3 separate regions of the Homo sapiens genome follow, and regions 1 and 2 are each linked to region 3. The links are contacts of gene promoters, found by promoter capture Hi-C in blood cells and fetal thymus (Javierre and others, 2016). All regions are on one chromosome and are shown on one strand. The core of a region is centred on a gene start or on the middle of the fragment in contact, and the rest is flanking DNA. Distances in the headings are between cores, read along the strand shown.

Evidence for each region. Contacts are between HindIII fragments. The CHiCAGO score rates a contact against its expected background, and 5 or more counts as called.
Region 1: a fragment that was not itself captured here is called in contact with the fragment with the promoter of TAL1 in region 3 in 1 of 17 cell types (erythroblasts); the score reaches 5.8 in erythroblasts.
Region 2: a fragment that was not itself captured here is called in contact with the fragment with the promoter of TAL1 in region 3 in 2 of 17 cell types (megakaryocytes and erythroblasts); the score reaches 15.3 in megakaryocytes.

The regions. Positions count from the first base shown.
Region 1 is chr1:47,292,643-47,297,186 of GRCh38, reverse strand. STIL (STIL centriolar assembly protein) reads left to right here. Exons shown (of 17, transcript NM_001048166.1): 7 at 1,339-1,422; 8 at 3,643-3,729. Among named protein-coding and RNA genes, the nearest start is that of STIL, 19 kb to the left of the region's middle. The HindIII fragment of the contact is 891 bases long and covers 1,942-2,832 here.
Region 2 is chr1:47,179,540-47,183,956 of GRCh38, reverse strand. LINC00853 (long intergenic non-protein coding RNA 853) reads right to left here. Exons shown (of 2, transcript NR_047498.1): 2 at 3,618-4,089. PDZK1IP1 (PDZK1 interacting protein 1) reads left to right here. Exons shown (of 4, transcript NM_005764.4): 4 at 1-375. CYP4A22-AS1 (CYP4A22 antisense RNA 1) reads left to right here and starts at 4,334. Exons shown (of 6, transcript NR_199717.1): 1 at 4,334-4,417. RefSeq lists a cis regulatory region at 2,629-2,646 and enhancers at 2,565-2,709, 4,335-4,417. The HindIII fragment of the contact is 1,130 bases long and covers 2,034-3,163 here.
Region 3 is chr1:47,229,136-47,233,635 of GRCh38, reverse strand. TAL1 (TAL bHLH transcription factor 1, erythroid differentiation factor) reads left to right here and starts at 1,411. Exons shown (of 5, transcript NM_001290403.2): 1 at 1,411-1,469; 2 at 4,285-4,440. RefSeq lists enhancers at 1,242-2,215, 2,216-3,189, 3,382-4,343, 4,344-4,500. The HindIII fragment of the contact is 19,807 bases long and covers 1-4,500 here.

The DNA of each region.
Region 1 (4,544 bases), core at 1,138-3,637, 63 kb before region 3:
TATTTTTAGTAGAGATGGGGTTTCACCATCTTGGCCAGGCTTGTCTTGAACTCCTGACCTCATGATGCACCCATCTCAGCCTTCCAAAGTGTTGGAATTACAGGCATGAGCCACTGGGCCCAGCCAGCCTGAACTAATTCTTTTAAGGAGTAGAAATTTATCAGATGGGCAAGACATGAGGGAGAACTTTTAAAGCAGCTGTGTCATTGTTGATTTGTAAATCTTACGCCAACTCAGGCTTAATATTCTTGTCACAAGACCTGACAAATGTATTGTCTTTGTGTTTTAGTGTTATTAGAGCAATAAAATATATCATCAGTGGTACTGCCAAGGCTTTATATCACTAATGGCATTGTTTTTGTTTTCTGTTTTTGAGACGGAGTCTCACTCTGTTGCCCAGGCTGAAGTGCAGTGGTGCAATCTCGGCTCACTGCAACCTCTGCTTCCTGGGTTCAAGTGATTCATTCTCCTGCCTCAGCCTCCCGAGTAGCTGGGATTACAGGCGTGTGCCACAATGCCTGGCTAATTTTTTTTTTTGTATATTCAGTAGAGATGGGGTTTTGCCATGTTGGCCATGCTGGTCTCGAACTCCTCACCTCAAGTGATTTGCCCACCTCGGCCTCCCAAAGTGCTGGGATTACAGTAAGCGTGAGCCACCATGCCTGACCCACTAATGGCATTGTTTTTGAAGAAAGACATAACAATAAAATTAACAATTCTACTTTGGTTTTTTGTATTCTTATAACTTGCTGTCAATAATAAATATAATAAAATATAAATATAGTATAATGTCCTTTTAGGAAAGAGTGAGCTTTTGTGTTTTATGATGGTTCCAAAGTCCTTTGACAGTGGTTGGAGGAATATGGCACATGGAAGGTTGATCATACTTCTCCTAATTCAGTCTCCTTCACTTAGAAGTCACATCTGTTGCAGTCTTGTCAAATCACTTGGATGCATGAACATTTTCTAGTGATAGGGAATTCAGTTCTTCCAAGGAAACCTATTTGGTTCTGAAACTGCCTACCTTAATGTTAACACTCTTGATTAAAGTAAATTGTAAGTAAAGTTATAGAGCAAAACTTTTAAAAAAGGTGTATAATCTTCAATGTCTTTTAATTGATAGATGGAAGTTTTAAGGTATTAAATCTCTTTAATCTCTTCCTCTTACCAGAGTCTTTTTACTGAGTCAGTAAAAAGTTTCTGTTTCTTTTGTGTGTGCAAGACAACGTTCATTTGAATTATCTCCCCTTTCTAAAGTATGCTTCAGCATTTAGATTATGTCTTTTAGGTAAAAAGTACATAATTTCAGTTATTTTCACATGAATGTCTTCTGTTTAGATATCTTACCATGGATGAAACACGCAAATTGTTACTTTTGTTGGAATCTGATCCCAAGGTTTATTCTCTACCATTGGTGGGAATGTAAGTATTACATTATTTATGAAAACCTTATCAGCCAAATGTTCAAATGTATATGATAAGCATGTGACTCAGTTGTACTATAAATATTTAGATCATTTTATAAAGCCACAAAGATAAGTGGTTGTCAGGTTTTCTTATTTTACTAGTAGAATCAGCTAAAATAAGATTTTACCCAATCTTTTTTTTGAGATGGAGTCTTGCTCTGTGCCCAGACTGGAGTGCAGTGGAGAGATCTCGGCTCACTGCAATCTCCATCCCCCAGGTTCAAGTGATTCTCGTGCTTCAGCCTCCTAAGTAGCTGGGATTACAGGCGTGCATCACCATGCCTGGCTAATTTTTGCTTTTTTAGTAGAGACGGGGTTTTACCATGTTGGCCAGGCTCGTCTCGAACCCGTGGCCTCAAGTGATTTACCCGCCTCAGCCTCCCAAAGTGCTTGGATTACAGGTGTGAACCATCATGCTCAGCCAGATTTTGTCCAATATTAGGAAGAACTCTAACATATAAAACAGATAAAAGCTTAATTCTATGGCCAGGCGCAGTGGCTCACGCCTGTAATCCCAGCACTTTTGGAGGCTGAGGTGGGCGGATCACCTGAGGTCAGGAGTTCGAGGTCAGGAGTTCAAGGCCAGCCTGGATAACATGGTGAAACCCCATTTCTACTAAAAATACAAAAAATTAGCCAGGCATGGTGGTGCGTGCCTGTAATCCCAGCTACTTGGCAGGCTGAGGCAGGAGAATCACTTGAGCCCAGGAGGTGGAGGTTGCAGTGAGCTGAGATTGCGCCATTGCACTCCAGCTTGGGCAACAAGAGTGAAACTCCTTCTCAAAAAAAAATAAAAAATATAAGTTGAATTCTCCTGGTTGAAGGTGAAGGCTTAGAGCCCTGTTTCTTCAGTATTCTCTCACTACCACTCATCCTTAAGTCACCCTAAAGAACTCAGGGCTCATAATAATACCATTTAAAATCCACTGTCAGTCAATCTTGCAGAAATCTCCTTTAGTGTTAATGGCCTTCTCTTTAGAGTAGTAATTAATGATATTTATGTGTTTACTTTTTTTTATATATGTATACATGTTTTGAGACAGGGTCTCACTTTGTCACACAGGCTGGAGTGCAGTGGCACAATCATGGCTCACTGCAGCCTCAATCTCTGGGGTTCAGGTGATCCTCCCACCTCAGCCTCCTGAATAGCTAGGACTACAGGCACCGGCCATCACGCCTGGCTAGGTTTTGTATATTTTGTAGAGGCGGGCTTTCGCCATGTTGCCCAGGCTGGTCTGGAACTCCTGGGCTCAAGCCATCTGAGTTAATGATATTTAGACAGAATATTTAGAAATTTATATTCATTCAGTATTGAGTACTTATTATATACAGTGTTATGCTTGATAATGTGTTGAGGTTTAAAGCTTCTTAAAGAATTTAAAATCAAAGTGAGGTGATAAAACATTCAAATATTCATACACAGAAAAATAAAGTATATGATTTACTATAAAGTGACCAGTATGGAAAGTGAACACTTAGTATTTGTAAGAAAGATATGATAGGGAGCATTTTCCTAGAGAAGACAAACTTGAGCTAGACTTTCAATTGTTTAGATAGTAGAAGGGAAGATTGTTGGGGAAGGGAACCCATGTAAGGGAATGGCACATGCAAAGTGAATGAGAATGCATGAATGTTCTCTGGACCATGAAATCTACTTATAGTTTGCTACAGTCCTAATATAGGCAATGGATTGTTGATGCTTAAGTAAATATTAAGAGCCTTCTCTCTTTCTGACTACCTGTATATATTACAGCATTTAATCCTCAGCAACTCTGTGAAGTAGTTTTAGGCTGCAAATTAGTCTGTACTACCTTAGCCCATTCTTTCCAGTCCAAGCTAATTCATTCTAGTATACTGCTTTCATCTCTGTTAACCATTTTCTTTCCCACATCTCAGGTAAAAGAGGACAGAGATACGCGTGCTTGCTCTCTTTCTCTCTCTCTCTCTCGATATATATCTATATGTCTGTCTATATATATCAATATAGTTATATATATACAAATGTCTATATATTCTTCCTTTTAATTATCAGCACGTTTTTAGATTTCTTATTACTAAGGCTTTTTAATGTATGGCTGATAAAAGCCATACGTCTACTTTGTTATCTTAGGAAGAATGTAAATTATGCTATATATGTAAGTGACTATGGTTTTTAATTTCTATCTTTTTCTTTTAGTTGGCTGTCTGGAATTACACATATCTATAGTCCTCAGGTATGGGCTTGCTGTTTGCGATACATATTCAATTCTTCTGTTCAAGAAAGGCAAGTGATATTTTATTCTGTAGTACTTTATTTCGATCCTTTCCCCCATTCATAGTTTATGGTCCCATTTAAAATTCATGTAATGCCGTAACCTTTTACAATACTTATAAATAAACACGTACATTAAGAAAAAACAAACCTTATATTAAATGAGAATAAAACCAGATTAAAAAAAGATGAGGTTGCAGTATACCTGGAAATACCAAGGAATTCACTTGCCTAACCACAGAACACAAACCTTTTGGGGGTGGAAAAAAACTGTGGAGATTGTCTACTGTAGCATCCTATTTAATAATTAAGGAGGTTAACTTTCAGTGAAATGACTGCAAATGAGTTTGGATTTGTTACCTTACAGATGTTTTATTAAGTTACACAGTGTTACTACTAATACACAAAGAAATACTTGAGACAAGATTTTTAATTTCTTCCTGAAACTGAAGCCTAAACATTGGAATTAATAGTTAGGGAAACTTTACTTTTAACCTCAACTCATTTAATAGATAAAGAAGGTGACATCTTTGTCAGTATTTGTCTCTCACCTTCTTTATCTATTAAATGAGAAGGTCTATTTTTATCTACCTTGGGTGGCTGTAAAGGACTTAAACTATATTGAAAAGGCAGTACAAGCACATAGTAATAAATTGACATATGTAAATATCTACAATAAAAGTAGATCTCTCTTCCTCCCCATTTCCCTAGACCCCATTCTCAGAGGCAATCACTGTAAAGTGATATCTTGTGCTTCCTTCCTGAAATAGTCAATATTTCAATACTCAACATAGACAAGTATCACCTTTTCCTGGCCTGTAAAAATT
Region 2 (4,417 bases), core at 1,349-3,848, 51 kb after region 3:
CCAACCCCAAGACTCCCAGGCACATGGGATGGATGTCCAGTGCTACCACCCAAGCCCCCTCCTTCTTTGTGTGGAATCTGCAATAGTGGGCTGACTCCCTCCAGCCCCATGCCGGCCCTACCCGCCCTTGAAGTATAGCCAGCCAAGGTTGGAGCTCAGACCGTGTCTAGGTTGGGGCTCGGCTGTGGCCCTGGGGTCTCCTGCTCAGCTCAGAAGAGCCTTCTGGAGAGGACAGTCAGCTGAGCACCTCCCATCCTGCTCACACGTCCTTCCCCATAACTATGGAAATGGCCCTAATTTCTGTGAAATAAAGACTTTTTGTATTTCTGGGGCTGAGGCTCAGCAACAGCCCCTCAGGCTTCCAGTGAGTCCCCATCTTGCTTTCTGAATCATGACAGTCACCTTCCGACTCTGTTGTAGTGGCTTTGGGGGATTATGCAGGAAGCCCCTGTGCCCACAGGGCAGCTGGGACCGAGGGGGCCCAGGCTGGGGAGGGGCTGAGAGTGTGTGGCCAGGGTGAGGGTAAGAGAGGGTTGGTGCCTTTCTGGTGTTTGAGAGTGAAGCACCCTCAAATGGGAGTGTCTGATGACACCTGGGAGAACTGGGAGGCAGGGAGACCAGGACAGGTGAGCCCATTTCTGCCAATGGGCTGGTTTTTGTCCCCTCAGGCCAAACCCTTTCTTCAACCAGAGCAGCCAGGCAAGGCTTCCCAGGGCAGGGCAGAGCAGACCCTAATATGAGCTAGGTTCCCCTAGTGCTGATCAGTTTCCTGTATGTAGGGAAGGAAGAGGATGTCAGAGGCCCATGGGCCAGAGAGCTCACCCACTCTACCCTTGCTCCAGGTAGCGCCCCTCTTGGAAATCCCCGCCCCCAAACATCCTTCATCCCTGAGACTCTGGGCTTTTCCTTGCTCAGCGCCGCTCACCCTCTGCCTCTGTGCTGGAGGTGTCACAGTGGGTTCACACAGATCTAGCTCTGTCTCCCTCCAGTAGCCCCTCCGTGCTGGGCTTTGGCATAGGAAGTGTCAGGAAGCAGTCTTGGGTTGAGACTCAGGAAGCCCAGATCTGAGTCCTGGGTCCTCTGGCAACTTGTGTGTGAACTTGGGAAAGCTGTTGTCCTCTCTGAGCTGAGCTTTCTCTCCGTGGAAGATTTGGCCAGTCTCACGGCAGAGCTGGAGGAGAGCCCAGTCCTTGCCTATGCCTGCCCTCCCAATGCCCAGTCCTGGGGTGGGAGTCAGGGTTGGGAAGGGAGGATCAGGAAACTGGGTCCTAGTAGGAGCAGGGGAGAGGGGAGGCATGCCTTGCCTGGCTGGCTGAACCTGGAGGCCCCTCACCTCTGTGACTGTTGGCCTTATGCGAACAGCTTCTGTCTCTGTCCAGGGTGATAACCTGAGAGACTCATCCAGGATAATTCCCAGATCCAGAGAAGTGGGGCCAGAAGGTAGGAGGCCATCCACCTTGTCCCAAAGGTCTCCCTCTGCCACTTGTCTCAACCTGTCACAGCCCCCTTGCTTTATGTTATGGCCATTGTTTTGCTATTCCAAGGCTTCACCAAGTACCACTGGGGAAGACTCATCTTAAATGGGAATCATCTCTTCTCACCTCATTGGGTTTAGGATGCAGCCTGCAGCAGAGGGAAGAGGCCTGTGGGTCGGGGAGCAGCGGCTTTGCTCCAGGCCTATCCTTGCTTTTCTGCGTGTCTTGAGACAAGTCACCTCCCCTCTCTGGGCTTCGGCTTAATGAACTGTGGCTTGTGATTTCTACTCTAGGCTTTTGCTTACGTGGCTGCCTGTGACTCATGCCTTTTCACCCCACCTCTGCCAGTTTAAACTCTGCGCATTGTTTTTTCTTGACCCAACCAAGGTTCCTCCTCTTCTGGGAAGTCTTCCTTGATTAGACCAGAGGGCAAAGCCAGGCCAGCAGCCAGCCCAGCTTCTCCACTCACTGAAGGAGAGACAGAGGTTCCTAGAGGGTCAGGCCTCTGCTAAGGCACAAACAGTCCCCTCTTCCTTTCCTGTCTCCTGGTGGGAAGCTTCTGACTGCCGGATCCGATTCTCCTTGCACGAGGCCACATTTCCTCCCAGCTCTGCCCTCAGTTGTCCCTGGGGGGTGGGAGTGGGTTCGAGTCAGGTCACTCCACCAGCCTGCCAGGGCCAGAAGGCAGAGCCACCATCCCTGTCTCCCTGCAGCAAGTGAATCCCAGCCCCTCACACCTGTGAGGTTTTGCCAGGAGAAGCCTGCTTCTGCCTGGGCTCACCTTGCTCCCCAGCAGCTGTCTGAGGCCTCTCCAAGAGCCTCCTTGGCCCCCTTCTCATTCTGTCTTGCTCAATATGGGCAGATCTAGGAGAGTGGGAACCCTAGGGGCTCCTGCAGGGGCTGGGCCGGCACTGACCTTACAGCCCTTCACCCTCACCCCATGTTCCTGCCCTGATCCAGAGGGGAGTGCTGGGAGCAGGGAGCTGCTGGCCCCAGAACTGCTGAGACCCCCAATCCTTATCGCTCATTCCCACCTGCCAGCCTGGCCAGATCGGGGAGGGAAAGGAGGCTGGGCCCGGGCCAGGGTGGCGCTTAATGACCCTCCGGGGGCCTAATCTCAGACTGGCAGCCACGGAGTGGCTCAGGCGCGCTCCTGGAGAAGGCTGATAACGCACCAGCTGGGCCCCCACCATCTATCGCTGCACAGCCAGTCCCAGGGGCAGCCTCCCAGGGCCTGGGGAGGGGGAGCCTCTGGACTAGGGCGGGGCTGGAGGCGAGCTCTCCACCCCCAGCCCTGAGGGAGGGGATCCTGAGCTTCGTGATTGGCAGACAAGGGAGAGACCCAGCCTGCAGGAGGGGTGGGCTGGGCCTGGTGGGAACCTCCAGACACCTGTGCTCCTTCTCTCTTTCCTGCTCTCTTCCCAACCTTTTCTCCCCACGTAGGACCTCTCCTGCCCAGGCCTGTCTCCTCTTTGTCTCTCCCAGCCTCCATCCATCTCTGTCTCCCTGTTTCTCAGTCTCTCCACCTCTGTTTTTGTCTCATCCTCTGCCTCTCTCTCTCCTGTTTGCCTTTCTCCTCCTCCACCTGAGCTCAGTGCCCACCTCCTCTTTCTCTCTTGCATCCCTTTTCAGTTTCCAGCTGGTTCTCTTGGTTGTCCCCTTCCCAGCTGTCCCCTGCCTCCTAAGCTTCCTTGATGTCAACCCTTGGCCGGGCAGTTCCCACGATCTCATTGGTCTCACTTCTGTGTGTGGTATCATCTCTCTGTGGTCCCTTCCACCAGCTATCTGCCAGGATTGCAGGCTGCCTCAAGCCCTGGCTCTCAGCCCAGAATGTCCTCTTACTGTTGAGGACATTTTTGCTCTTCCTGGAACAGGGCTTGCACCTTGTTTTCCCCTCTCCCACCTAAAACATGTAAGTTTCATAGGGTTACATTATAGGTTATACCCAAACTCAGGCAGAAAAGAAAAGCCTCCACCCAGCAACTGCACAGTTGAGGGAAGACTGCAGCACTGCTTACTTCATTTAGACTTGAAGAGGAACTTCCAGCCAGGAGTTGGCTTTGAAAACAGGCTGTGGAGTTCCGTCTCCAGAGTGCCAGGTGGTCAAGGGGAGTTTCAAGATTACTGCCGTCATACTCAGAGTGACACATGCAGAAATACTATCTGTTTATTGTGCTTCAAGGATCCATTAGATCAGGACTATTGCTGGGCAAAGCCTCTTCCCGCAGCCTAGGGGTAGTAAAGGTGGGGGTAGAGGTGCTGGGGCTGGGGCCAGAATCACACACAGTCTGCTCTGGCCTCTACCCACCTTCACAGGGAAGTCAGGTGGCTGAAGCCAGCAGAACTTGCTCTGGGACCAGGGTGGAGGCACCTGCCTCCCATCCAGACCTGGCTGGAGGGTCTTGACTCCCTAGCTTGGCTCTCCTCCCAGGGTTTTTTTTTTTTTTTTTTTTTGTCCCTGGCAGTGCAGGGGTGGCCAAAAGCTTGAGCTTGGGAATCATGCCGATTGGTTCAAATTCCAGCCTGCTCCTCGATGCTTGTGGGATCGCCTAGCCTTTCAGATCTTCCATTCCTTTGCCGGTAAAATTGGCTCTATAGTACATTCCTTGCAGGGCTGCTGGGAGGAAACAGAGATGACATCCGTGTTATTATTGCTCCTGAGACTTGCCAGAAAGCCCTCCATGATCAGCGTAGATGCCATTTCTTCCCAGATGCTCCTTTCCCCACTCCTGGGTTCAGCACTTCCTCCGGGCAACTTCAGCCCCTGCTCCTCCCTCTCTTTGCACCCGCCCCACCTGCCCCACTCACTCCACCCACCCCAGGGTGCTGTCTACTTGTCTGCATCCTGCTCCTGCCCTGGGTCTGGGAGCTCCTCAAGGGCAGGAATGGAGTGACTTCCCTCTCTGTGCACCCAGGACAGGGCTGGACAGGAGAAGGGAAGC
Region 3 (4,500 bases), core at 162-2,661:
GTTTGGGTCCTGGCTTTTCCTTTGGGTTACTGTAAGTTTTGGCTAAGTCACATCTCTCTGTGTCTTAATTTCTTTCTCTATGATGATAACCAGAACTCCCATGCAAGTGCATATGATGTTTTCCTGGGCTGTGGACTGAGTGACGTTCCATACATTATTATCCTCACCACCACCTTTTAAAGGTCATATAAGTTAGTTCTCATAACTTTGTGACGTCGACATTATCTCCCCATTTTACAAATGAGAAAACTGAGGTTCAGAGATCAGTGACTAAAATTCGAACATGTGTTCTTTCCACTCCACCATGAAAGAATGAACCCAGAGACCCTCCGTGGGCTGAGCGCATCATCCAGCTGGCACTGAACTCAGATTTCTACCCCACAGTAAAGACCCTGGTCTCTGCAATGAGTTGAGCCCAGGTCCCTTTCCCTGGCTAGGTTTTGGCTGCCCCTCTTCATCAGCTGAGCCGCAGAGAAGACTCCGTGTCAAATTTCCTTCCAAGGCAGACTCCACCAAGCACTAGCTATGTATCATTCGAAAAGTTACTTTGACTTTCTGTGCCTCAGTTTTCTCTTCTGTAAATTAAGGATCCAGCTTCTCAGGACTGTTTGTGAAGAGTAGATTAGTATTTGCAGAATGCCTAGAATAGTGTTACAGTCGCTAGATTAAACTTTTTTTTTTTTTTTAAATACCATGTGGGGAGCAGTGTTCCTGGGCTCTGGGCTCAGCCTGAAACCTAGCAGAATAGGCATTTTATGTCCCTATTGACAGGGGTTCTGCCAGGCCGCCGTAGAGCCCATGGATTTGAGTTACCGGCTCTATTTTAGAAGGGGGTGAAGAGGTAGGGAAGGGCTGGGGAGCTTTCTGGGATAGGGAGACTGCCCATTGAAATCTGGGTGTCTGGGACACTGGAGGAAGAATAAGAAAGAAGCCCTGGGAGGTGACGATTTTGGTATCATGGTGGTCTTCAGAGGTAGGGACAGAGTGCTGGGGTGAGAGTCGCTGAAGAAAGGTGTCTGAAAGGTTAAGGGACTGAGGTTGTGGGAAGCTGGGGTTCCTGAGAGGCCTTGGGATTAGAGATGGGGGCTGGATCTGCTGGGTCCTAGACAGCGCGTCCAACGCTCCCCGCAGCGCGTTCCGGAGCCGGTCCTAGCGCCGCTCAACCAGTCCCCACTCCCTCCGGTGAAATTGCCAAATTAAAATGAATCATTTGGCCCATAATGGCCGAGGCGCTTATCGGGGGCGGGCGGACCCGCGGCAGTGCCTTATCTCTGCGGCGCACACGGCCCCGGCGCGCCTCGGCCCATGCTAACGAGGCCTGGAACGTGAGTGGGATTACAGCGCGTCGGTGGAGGGGCCGGGCGGGCGCGGGGCGGGCGGGGGAGCGGGGGCCGCGGGAGGGGCCGGGCCGCCGCCGCTCAGGACCGGGCCTCAAAATGGCCACACGCGTACCCCCGTAGCGGAAAAACGTGAGCATTCTGGCCTTTTTCTAGGGGAAAAGCAACCCGCGGCCTCCCACCGAATTCTTCATCAATTTCCTCCTCTTTTTCCCCACGTCCGCAAAAGAGGTCTTCGCTCCCTTTCCCTCGGTTCCTTTCGATGGCCGGGGGGGGCGGTGGGGGGGCATTTTCCACGGACGCCCCCGCCCCGGCTGCCGCCGCCCCTCCCGCCTCGGAGACTCTCTTCCTTCCTTCCCCCTTTTCCTTACGCAATATACAGAAATGCGCGAGGCTGTGGTTGGTTTTCATTTCTTCTTCGTGGTTGTGTGCATGCGGTGGGATTGTGAGAGTGCGTTCATGAGAACTGTGGGCGGCGTTGGCTGCTTCTAAGTGTGGTCTTCTTGGCGACAGGCTCTGTGTCCGAGTGTGGTGTGCCTGCGCGGTTGGGGTGTGTAGATGTGGACCCTTCGAGGCCCTTCTGCGTTTTCTTCGTTGCGTACGATTGTGCTCCGTTGGTGTTCTCAGCAGGGATCTGATTCTGTGTGTGGGGGTGTGTGGCCCCTGCGACTGTGTTTGGGTGGTGTCGTCGTTATGTCGGGCGTGTGTGATCCCGACTGTGCTGGATTGTGTGTCCGTGAGCCGCTGCGTTTGACTGATTTCGTTGTGTCCTGTTGGGCAGTGTGCGGGGCTGACCAAGTCGGCTTCTGGGGCAGTGCTAGGTGGTGTTTGTTTGCTGCCCTTCTGTGGGGCTGGACCCTGTGTGGTCCTGTCCGCACTGAGTTGTATGCCTGTGTGCCTGTGTCCTTTAGAGGTGCGTTTGCAAATCGCTGGGGGCGGGAGTGGGGGGAGGGCGAGCGAGAGATCGAGGCGCTGGTGGGGGCGGCGGCATGGGGGCGGGGAGCGGGATTTCACATTTTATTCCAAATTATGATGTATTCGGGAGCCAGTTGTTGGCTTGGGTGGGCGGACAGCGCCCGGTCGGCGGCTGCTCTGCCCGGAGGCCCGCCTGTGCCTAGGTGTTTGAGGGGTTCGTTGGTGAGTGGGAGGCTCCTCCAGGCTTGAAGCTGAGCAGCGCTCGCCGAGGCCGGCGCCTTCGAGCCGGTAGCTGCGGGCTTCGGTTCCCGCTGCACTCCGGCTTCATCCATTTCTGGTCAGTTTCGTGGGTGCGGCCGCCGGGCTCCAAGGGAGAGGCCCCGAAAGGACAATGGGCACATTCACCAGGCCTCGAGCCTCGGGTGGGGACATTCGGGATCACCTCCTGGGAAGATTTTCCCGCCCCCTCTTCGGGTGAGCGACGTTGCCGCTTGGGTCTGATACCCGTCGCATCCGAGACCGAGGCCGAATCCGGGCTCTGGGAGGGACCGGGTTAGTGGGGCCCTAGCTCGGGTTGAAAGAATTTTGTTTTGTCAATTATTGTAATTGCTAATGCCATCACCATCACAATCGTCATCATTAACATCTATTTTAATTAAAATAATCATCCCAGAGCGCAGCAGTTTGTCCCTTTTGGCTCCTTTGGCGGGAGAACAAAGCAGCGGGTTTTTTTCCGCTACAGCCGTTTTCTAAGTTGCTGGGTTTGAGGTAGGAAGAGAAAATGGAGAGAGGCACGGACACAGAGACTTGGTCATAAGGCAAACATTAACCCCCAGCGAACACGCAACATTAACCCCCCGCGAACACGCCGGGAATGGATGGATTCCCCTCTTCTTTCCTCCCCTCCCCTCTTTTGGATTAGAAGAGGAGAAAGAAAATCTTCCGCATTGTATTGCAATCCAGGGAAGAATTATTCCTATATGTCCACCAAAGCCGCGGCAAATAGAAGGAGGCCTTCGCAGTTAATCCAAGACTTCGATGTGTGATCATAAGCCTGACGATTTAGGCAAAACAAATTAAACAAAATCCACTAGGAAAAAATAAAAGCAAGCTCAATCCTGCTACATCCTTGAAAGTAGTGTCGGGTTTGTTTTTACCTCCTTTCCTTTTACCTTGTTTATTGCTGTAACAAATCATTAGAATTCTCCCTTACTCTGTCTAAACCCCGAAAAATCGAAAATCATTTCGTAGGGGTGGTGGAGGGGAAGGTGGGGGACTTTTCCCCTTTGTTTCTTTCTTTCCCCCTTTGTTGGTCTTTATTTCCTTTTCTTTTTCTGTCTCTCTCTTCCTCTCTCTTTCTTCTTTCTCTTAATCAGTAGGGAGACGAGAAAGGACCTGAACAGATCAGATATCTCTCTCCAAGCCCCCTTCCCAACTCCATTTCTGTAGGAAAGTACAGCCCCTGGAATTGGGTTCTGGTTTCGCTTTGGGCTGGAGGTGGGTGGATGGGGGTCAGAGAGAGAATGAGGTGGGGGGGACTTCAAGGTTCTGTCCCACCGACCAGAGTCTGAAGACTATTCGCCTTTCCCAACACGGACCTCCGCCCATCCAGGCCCGGGACTATCCCTTCGCGGTGTAGCGGCAGCCGGAGACCTGGCTGAGGAGGCAACCGCGTAGACACCTCCCTGCTTAGAAAACAAACACTGAACCAGACCGATCCCAGTTGGAGGGTTCGAAAATGTTCCAGACAGCCTGTCGGGAGGGGTTGTTGTTGCTGTTGGACTAAATAGCTATTCCTGATTGGTCATGTATAGGGTTTTTTAAGGCGGGTGGGGGGAGGAGGGGGTAGAGGAAAGGCTCCAAACACCTGCAGGTTGGGGGCGGAAAGCTGTTTGCGATTCCCTGGACTGGTTGGTCGGGGACAGGAGGTAATTCCCAGCCATTGACCCCCATTTCTCTCTCTCCCTCCCTCTTGCCCTGCCTCTTTCTCTCCACCCCTATCTTTCCTGGAAACTCGCTTTGGGCGCGGCAGATCGCCCAGGACCACACCGCAGCGTAACTGCAGGCCTCTCAGCGAAAAAGGGGGAAAGCAAAGACCCGGGTGTGCATCCTCTTCCTCGGCTTCCGCCCCTTTCCGGCGGAGTGGAGATCCTATTCAGAGGGGCCGGTCTCTCTAAATATGCCCCAGGTGAGTTTTCAGGGGAATGGTGCCGGTGGAAACGGTGTCTAGGAAGGCCTTGTGTTCCGG